2 separate regions of the Homo sapiens genome follow, and region 1 is linked to region 2. The links are contacts of gene promoters, found by promoter capture Hi-C in human tissues and cell types (Jung and others, 2019). All regions are on one chromosome and are shown on one strand. Each heading gives the region's core, a stretch centred on a gene start or on the middle of the fragment in contact. The rest is flanking DNA. Distances are from core to core; before and after follow the strand shown. Region 1 holds the start of CD248 (CD248 molecule). Region 2 holds the start of CFL1 (cofilin 1).

What was found. Contacts are between HindIII fragments. The study calls those that stand out against the background at their distance.
Region 1: the fragment with the promoter of CD248 here is called in contact with the fragment with the promoter of CFL1 in region 2 in 1 of the 25 tissues and cell types used here (spleen).

The regions. Positions count from the first base shown.
Region 1 is chr11:66,314,718-66,318,989 of GRCh38, forward strand. It overlaps CD248 (CD248 molecule), which reads right to left and starts at 2,327. Exons shown (of 1, transcript NM_020404.3): 1 at 1-2,327. The coding sequence starts at 2,310. The coding sequence ends at 37. RefSeq lists an enhancer at 1,076-1,772 and a silencer at 2,256-2,525. The HindIII fragment of the contact is 8,045 bases long and covers 1-4,272 here.
Region 2 is chr11:65,856,930-65,860,679 of GRCh38, forward strand. It overlaps CFL1 (cofilin 1), which reads right to left and starts at 1,251. Exons shown (of 4, transcript NM_005507.3): 1 at 1,168-1,251. The coding sequence starts at 1,170. MUS81 (MUS81 structure-specific endonuclease subunit) reads left to right here and starts at 3,504. Exons shown (of 16, transcript NM_025128.5): 1 at 3,504-3,750. RefSeq lists silencers at 817-1,216, 2,627-2,706 and enhancers at 823-1,363, 1,297-1,346, 1,737-1,806, 2,367-2,456, 2,977-3,026 and 2 more. The HindIII fragment of the contact is 15,299 bases long and covers 1-3,750 here.

The DNA.
Region 1 (4,272 bases), core at 1,077-3,576, 460 kb after region 2:
AGCGCCCCATACTCCATGAGGGGGGTCTGCACCCCATCACACGCTGGTTCTGCAGGTCTGCACCCCTGTGAGGCTGCCCCTGGGGGGCATGGGTTCTGTTGGGCTCTTGCTCCCAGCATGGATGACCCAGCGATAGCAGTCAGTGATGCGCTTGTTGGGTGCATGGGGGCCACAGCGGGTGCAGTACACGATGCCCAGTGCAAGCAGGACCACCAAAAAGACACACGTTGGCACCAGGAGTGCCACCAGCAGCCACCGGTCATCCCTCTGGCTGTGCTCGGCAAGACCAGCCTCCCCCAGGGCTGTTGGGGCTGCTGTGGGAGCTGGTGAGGGCAGCCACAGGGCCAACTTGGGACTGGGGCCATCTTCCCTTGGGATTTGGGGGGCTTTGGAATGGGGATGTGTAGGGCTGATGGGTGAGGTCTGGTTAGTGGGGCTCTGAGAGGGCAGGAGGGTGGGGAGGGCTGCGGGCTGGGTGGCAGCAGGCACAGAGATTTGATGGGCAGGAGACACAGGGGACCTGGAGGTGGTGGTCAGAGAGGGCTGGGCAGTTGGGATAATGGGAAGCTGGGTGGCCTGGGTTCTGAGGACAAGGGCATCTGGGGCTTGAGGGGGTAGCTGGGCACCGAGGGTGGTGACCAGAGGGGCATGGTTAGGTGGGATTCCAGGCAAATGAGTGGTGGTCTGGGTGCCAGCGACCCGGGTGTCTGGAAACATGGGGGACTGGTGGGCAGGGAAGAGCTCCGGATATTTGGTTGAGATCATAGGGGGCTGGTGGGCAGGAGGCTGTGCTGAATGAGAGACAGAGAGAATACCGGGTTGGTAGGCAGAAGGCAGATCTGGATAGTTGGCTGCGATCACGGGGATCTGGTGGTCACGGGACAAAGCTGGGTGTGTGGCAGGGATCACAGGAGGCTGGTGGGCAGAAGGCAGTGTGGGATGCGTGGCAGAGACCACCACAGGCCGGGTGACGGAGAGCACTGAGGAGTGGTAGGGGACCCTGGGGGCACTGAGCGGGGGTGGCCAGGTGGGCTCCGGGTAGGGTATCTGTGGCTCTCTGTCCTCTGGGAAGCTCGGTCTATAGGCCAGGGCAAAGTCAGGCGGCTGCGTAGGCTCCATCCACAGGATCCCAGGCATCTCCGTCCAGCCACCGTTGAAGGCCTTCCAGGCCTCGTCTTCATCTTCCTCATCCTCCCCGTCATCCAGCAACTCATCTCCGAGGTCCTGGGAAGCCTGGGCACCCATGGCCCCTGCAGGGCTGCAGCTGATGCCATCAGCCTCCAGCTCATGTCCCTCGCTACAATAACACTCGAAGCCACCAACGTAGTTGACACACATCTGCTGGCACACACCGGCAATCTGGCACTCATCTGTGTCCACACAGCGGTGCGGATCATCCTCCGCTGGCCGGAAACCCAGGCGACAGTGGCAGCTGTAGCCTTGTGGCCCACCGGGCTCACACTGCTGCTCGCACGGAGCCTGGGCACAGGGGTCCTCGCAACTGCGCCCGTCTGCTGCCAGCCGGAAGCCCTCAGTGCAGCGGCAGGACACGTGACCATCCACCTCCTCCACACATTCGTGTTCGCAGCCCCCGTTGTCAGGGCTGCAGCCAGTCCCCAGGCACAGGGGCCCAGCCCGTGACCAGCCCACACCTCCCTCAGGCTGCTTCACGCAGAGCAGAGAGGCTCCCCTGCCAGCCTGGCACTGCACAGCGGCCACAGAGCCGAAGGGCAGCCACTCAAACTCTGTGGAGACCAGGTGGAAGGGCGTGGTATACACGGCTGGGCCGGCCTGGCCCGCCTCATCTTGCAGCGCCGGGCAGGCGCCCTCGAAGCCAAACTGGCACAGGTAGCCGTCGACAGCCAGCGTGCACGAGCCCTCCAGCCAGCGGTGCTCGCCACTTGCCTCCAGGGCCACACAGCGCTGGGCCGGGCAGGGGCCTCCAGAGGCTGGCTGGGCCCAGTTGGTGAAAGCCGTGTCCTGGTCCCCTGTGGTCCACGTGAAGCCGCGCAGTGGGCGCTGCAGCTGGCATTGCCGGGCCTGCCGCTGCAGCCCGATCCACAGCAGCCGGCTGGCTGGGCCCGCACCCACCAGGCTGTCCACACGCTGGGCCTCCTCGGGGGTCCGAGGAGTGGCCAGGTCGCCCCCCAGCTCGCGGCAGGCCCGCCAGGCCTCCAGGAAGGTGCGGCGCCGTGGGAAGAGAGCGTAGCAGCTGCTGGGGCCGCAGGCGGCACGGGGCTCAGCAGCCCAGGGGTCCTGGCCCAGTGTGGGCCCTGCGGCCGCCCAGGCCAGCAACAGGCGCAGCAGCATCGCGATGCCCCCGGACTGGTCCGGCCCCGGGCTGGCGGCAGCTCTTGACAGGGGGAGGGCCTGGGGCCTCCTGCGGGCGGGCCGGGGGCGGGCCTGGGGCCGGGCTCAGGCCTTGTAAGGAGTGGGCTGGGGCGGCTGCCAGCTCCCTGCTCCCTCTTCCCCGGGGGCCGCTAGAGCAGGAAGCAGTGGGGTGGGGGGCTCTAAGGTTGGGGGCGGAGGAGGGGAGAAGGCGCAGTTGACGGCTGCCCCAGGCCCCATGGGGCTGAGAGTCAGGGGGTGGGAAAAGCCTGCCTGCCGAGCTCTGTGACCCTCAAGTTGGGGCTCGGGGCTGTGGGGTGAGGTCGCTTCCCAGAGACTCAGAGACCCAAATCTGGACACAGCAGCCCCATCACACCCGGGAGCAGTCTCAGCCCAGCTGCTCGCCATGCACGGGAACACCCTCATGCCCACTCCTTTCTTGCCCCACAGACGCGCGCATGCGCCTCCCCCACCCCCAACCCCATGCAAGAGTGCACTCTCTGCCAAGCTGTTTGTCCCTTCACCTCACCGTGGACCTATGCTGGCTTGCAGATGACTCCCTTGCCACACGTACACACATTCTGACATGCTGAGACCCTAGGTGCACATACAAAAATGGTGTGGCATTCTACATGGCCTGACATATGAAGACCTCCGATTCGGCCTGAATGGAAACAGCTTGGTCACCCAGGCACAGGCATCCTCAGCCTCTCATTTATTTACTGAGCCCCTGCGTCAGCCTCTCCCCCTATACTCAAGCTTTCTGGTTCCAGCTGGGCCAGCGTGTGGGGGTGTTGGGGGAGTGAGGGGGCCAGGGGCTGCCCTCCCCTCACCCCAGCTCAGCCTGGGGCCCTGGGAACCTGGGCTTAGAGGGGGAGGAGGCAGCCCCTAAACAGGAAATGCCTCTCTGGGCTCCTGCGTCAGGAAGGCAGGGTGCGTGGTTTAGGGGGCTGGGTGGGGGCTGGGCTGCACGCAGGATGTGGAAGGCTGTGAGGGGACCCATGCAAGGCCATGTATGGGCATGGGGCACACAGTGACATATATGTGTATATGTGACACAGGCATCACGTGTGTGGAGCCCTCCCTGCCCCCGGGGCCTGCTGTTTCGGCCTGGCCAGGGTCCTCTTCCCGCCCTTCCTGGAGGCCTCTGGAGGCATGTGCACTGAGCCCATCATCCAGGATGGCCTCTGGGGAGCTGGCTGGCGGATTAACCCATGCACACCCGCTGCACTCTTAGCAGAAGTTAGAAACAGTGTGGGGAGGTGGGGGAGAGGTTCCGCCCTTCAGTAAACTGCCCTGATGCAGCTTCCCCCTCTGCCACAGATGGATCGACTTTGTGACTGCAGGGGAGTCACTGGCCCTCTCTGGGTCTCCTTTTTTCTCAGTTGCAACATGAGGGCAATGAGTCCAGGATTTTTAGCTCAGCAGGGCTGAGATATTGCGTCACAGCGCTCAGTGTTTGCAAATGTGCTTTGTCAGCTGTGGAGCCTGAAGCAAATGTTCCTGTCTTCTGAGCATATGTGGTGGGTGGAGACCAGGGTGCGTTTTTGCAAACCACCTTACAGTGCCTAGGCTGGCCCTGCAGACCCAGCCAGCCCCTCGAGAACCAGGGCTTAGGAAGTTCTTGCCATATGCCTGGAAGTTCCTTCTTACAAGGTCTATACATGTGAAGCACACAGAATGACTCCCCTTCTCAGGAGACAAAAGTCAAGATGGAGGAGTTCATCCTTCTGTTGGCTCAGGCCCCAAACCTTGAGGTCATGCTTGACTCCTCTCTTTCTCCCACAGCCCACATCCAGTCTCTCAGCAAATCCTGTTGGCTTCACTTTCAAAAGAGATCCAGAATCTGACCACTCCTGGACACCTTCTTTGCCACCCACCCCCGGCCCAGGTGGCTAGCAACGCCAATCTAGATTTCCCCAACAGCCTCTCCCGTGGTGTCTC
Region 2 (3,750 bases), core at 1-2,500:
CTCTGCGTCGTGCTTCGGGGTGCCCGAGCCAGGAGAGGGAGGGGCAATCCAAGGTAAATCTGGTCCCCCAAACTCCCCGGAACTGCAGAAGAAGCCGGCCACGTGACTCGGCCGCATCCGGAGTGGGCGGGGACAGGAGATCGGCTGGGCCCGGCCCCCTCACCAATGCAGAAACGCGTATCCGAGAGGCAGCAGCATCTCCAGGTCCCTAACCCTGTGGAATCGCCCTAAAACAACGGGTGTATCAGACCCATCTCCTGCAGGCAGGAGCCTGGGCAAGCTACATAACCTTCGGTTTTCTCAGCCCTCGGGCCGTATACAGGGGGCGGGGTGGTTTCCGGGCGGTGCCCGCCTGGGTCACTTCCCTAAACTCGGCTCCACCCTCACTCAGGCCCATCCGGGAAGGCCTCGCTGGCCCAGGGCTTCGGCACCGGCGGCCGGGCCTGAGCGTGCGCGCACGCGCCGACAGACAGCGCCGTTCCAGCCCTCGCCCGATGCACGGGTGAGAACGCAGCTCGTTAGATGCGCTCCCGAACGGGCCGCGGTCTCTGCGATGCCCCCTCCAAGCCTTGCGGTGCAAGGCCTTAATCGCAGGCACCCACGCCCCAACCGGGACCCCGTCTTCCCAGCATCACCCCTCGCCGCGCCAGCACCCGCCCCTCCCGGGCGCAGGCATCCCTGCCACCTGCTCCCGAGACGGACCCGGCTGCCGAGGGAGGGTGACGCGCAGACAGGAACAGCCTTGGGTGGGGCGCGCGCGCCGAGACCTCTCGCGCGCTTTTTCCTCGCCGCCCCCGGGCCGGGTTTGGACGCCGCATGCTCCAGTCGAGAGCGCGCCCCTAAGAAGAAAGGCGCGACGCCGGCCGTTCCGCGAGGGGCGCCCCAGCGCGCGCCCCGAACCCCTCCCCCCGCGGCCGGTGTCCGCGCGGGCGCACCAGCGGGTGGGGGAGGGGAGCCCAGGCGGAGCGCGAGCGACGTCCAGACCGGCCCTCCCCGGCGCCCACGGGCGCGCACGCGCATTCCGGCACCGCCCGCCCCTTCGTGCGAGACCCTCATCCCGCCCGGGGCGCTGGGGGAGGGGGTGCGGACGTCGCTCCCCAGTCGCTTCCCGCGCGCAGGCGACCGACCCGCAGCCGCCTCCCTCAGGCGCCGTGGCCTGCCGCTCACCATGTTTCCGGAAACGAAAAGGAGAGGGCACCGAGAGCCGCAGAAGACGAGAGCGCTGCAGCCGCTGCCGGGACCCGACTGAACGCGGCCTCTCCCGGCCCCTTCCGTTTAGTAGGAGCCGCACAATGAGGGGTGGGGCGGGCTTCCGGCGCTCCCACCGCGAGCCGACGGGAAATGGAGTCCGCTGGCCCTGCGCCGCCGCCTCGCTCGCTGGGTAACGGAGTCTTCCCGCCGGCCGGCTCCGAGCTGCAGTGCATGTAGGGAAATGTAGGCCCAGGTCCTGGGCGGCACCGCAGCGCGCAGCGCGAGCCCATTGGTCCAATTTCCCAGGAACCGCTCTGAGCCCGGCGAGGCGGCGCTCAGTAAAATGACCCGAAAACGATCCCCGACTAAGCGGCTCTTTATCCCACAGCAAAACGGCTTTCTTAAGACCCATCTGGTATTATCTGGATCCCTTGGCCTGAAATTTTTGAGTGAGGTTAGGGTTTTGCATTTCTGAATCGAAGCAACTATTGATTAGCCTGGAATCCCGACCTAAAGCAAAGGAAATCACAAGTATGAAGGCGTCGTCAGTCGGATAAACACTAGTACTCTGCATGTGTAAAGCCACTCTCGTCTCCTGAAAAAAGGCCATGTCCAACGTCAGTAAAACAAGAATAGGAGGAAAAGGCACAGGGGAAAGGTACAAGGAAATCTCTGAGAGCTTTGTTCTTGTTTAAAGATGTTTGGCAAAGTCATGAGGCGTTAAAGGGTAAAGACGAGGGTTTGTGCATTCAATTCAAGGCTTCTTTACATGCCTTTACGTGCCAATGAGAAGAAATAGATATTAAACCAGACTTGAACCCAGCTCTCGAGTTGATAGCCAGGTACATGGTTATTCTAACATCCGCAAAACTGAGACAAGTTCTGTGGTAGTATATGCCTTAAAAAAAAAAAGAAACGAGCGGGGGACTCCGGGATGATTTTGTTGTTCTAGAACAGTGACCACAGCCTCACACTCTGCAGGAAAAGACTGGGTCGCAAACAAGTCAGAGGCAAACCCAGAAAGGGAACTGGGGGCCCTAATCCTATAAACGGAATTAAGGGTGTAAACGGAGAGCGATGCCTGGGAGTGGGGTACCTTGCAGAGCATACCGGGGGTTGTAGTCGGGGACATTCCACAGCACCGCCCCCGCCCGGACTCCCGGCGCTCCAGGTGGAGACAGCAGCTTGACCCCGCCTCCCGCGAGCGACCCTACATGAATATGAGGCTAGCGCCCCCTTTTCTGAGCCTTAGAGTTTCCAAGAGCAACGGGGAGAGAGAGGGGGGCTTCGCAGTTACCCTGGAGACGCGCTCTCGCCCGCCCCCAGCCGCGGGATGCCCTAGATGTCCTTATTAGGACAAGAGACTCGAGGGGGCGGGGCCAGCCCGACAGCCGGCTTGAGGCTCCTTATAAGGCCGCGGCGGGCGGGAGGCGGGAGCCGGAGCCCATTGGTCCAATTTAGCTTGGCTGGGGCTACTGCGCCGTGGGCTAGGCACAGTCCTGAGGGGCGGGACTGGAGCTCTGGCGCCCACCTCTCCCTTCCTCGCAGGCTGGAGACCTGCGTGTTGCGACTTCCGGCATAGCAGCTAGAGGCCGGGTGCTGCTTCAAACCCTGGCGGGTCGCCTGTGTCCAACTCAGCTATACGTGTCTTTCAGGCTTCTCAGGTTGAAGCCCTTTGTAGGGTTTCCATCTTCAACCTCCCTGAGGGTCTCCCACTTCCGATTAGCCACAAAAATGACGAAGTGTTCTCCCCTCTACCTGTGTCTGGGCTTCTTAACCCGCAGCCTGCTCCTCCGCTCCCAAACCCAACCGCGTGCCCATCTCAGGCCTCCCCAACTGCCAGGATGCCCAAGCACCTCTTACTTACAGTCCTCCTTCCTCTAGGCCTCTGACCCCCGACATTCCGAGTTCTATTTTGGGCCTTCTCGGCACGTCCCCGACTTCCTCTCCACCACACACTCTTTGCCCTGTATCCCGGGGATGAGGATCACCATTTCCTCCAAGGGTCCTGCAGCTCCTCCTGCCTTACCTTTGTGTCCTCATCCCCGGCACCCATTTCTGGGTGTCCCTCCCACCAATACGTTTGCACCCGTTTGTCTCCTAGCCCCCGCCTCTCCTGGACTCTTTTCAAGACCAGTCTCCATCTCCAGCCTCCTTCAAGCTTGAGGCTGAAGCTGACAATCTTAAGAGACCTTAGAGCCGCCAAGCTCAGGTTAGTCCGTTAAGCGCCGCCCAGCCAGTCCTCCCCGTCACAGGGGGCGCTGTCCGCCTTCCTCTCGCCTACACAAAGACCCCGCTCTCGAATCTGGGGTGACAGGAAGGAGCCGGTCCAGGCTCCGGGGGCTGGGAAAGGGCGCGTCTCAAAGGCTGGCTGGAGTGGAGCCAAGGGAAAAGATCGTTAGAGACAGCGCCCCTGACCAACCACTTAGAGCAGCGCAGGGGTGGGAGGGCGGCCGCAGGCTCTCCTCTCGTTAGTGCCCCCTGTGTTTGGGGCCCCGTGATCTCAACGGTCCTGCCCTCGGTCTCCCTCTTCCCCCGCCCCGCCCTGGGCCAGGTGTT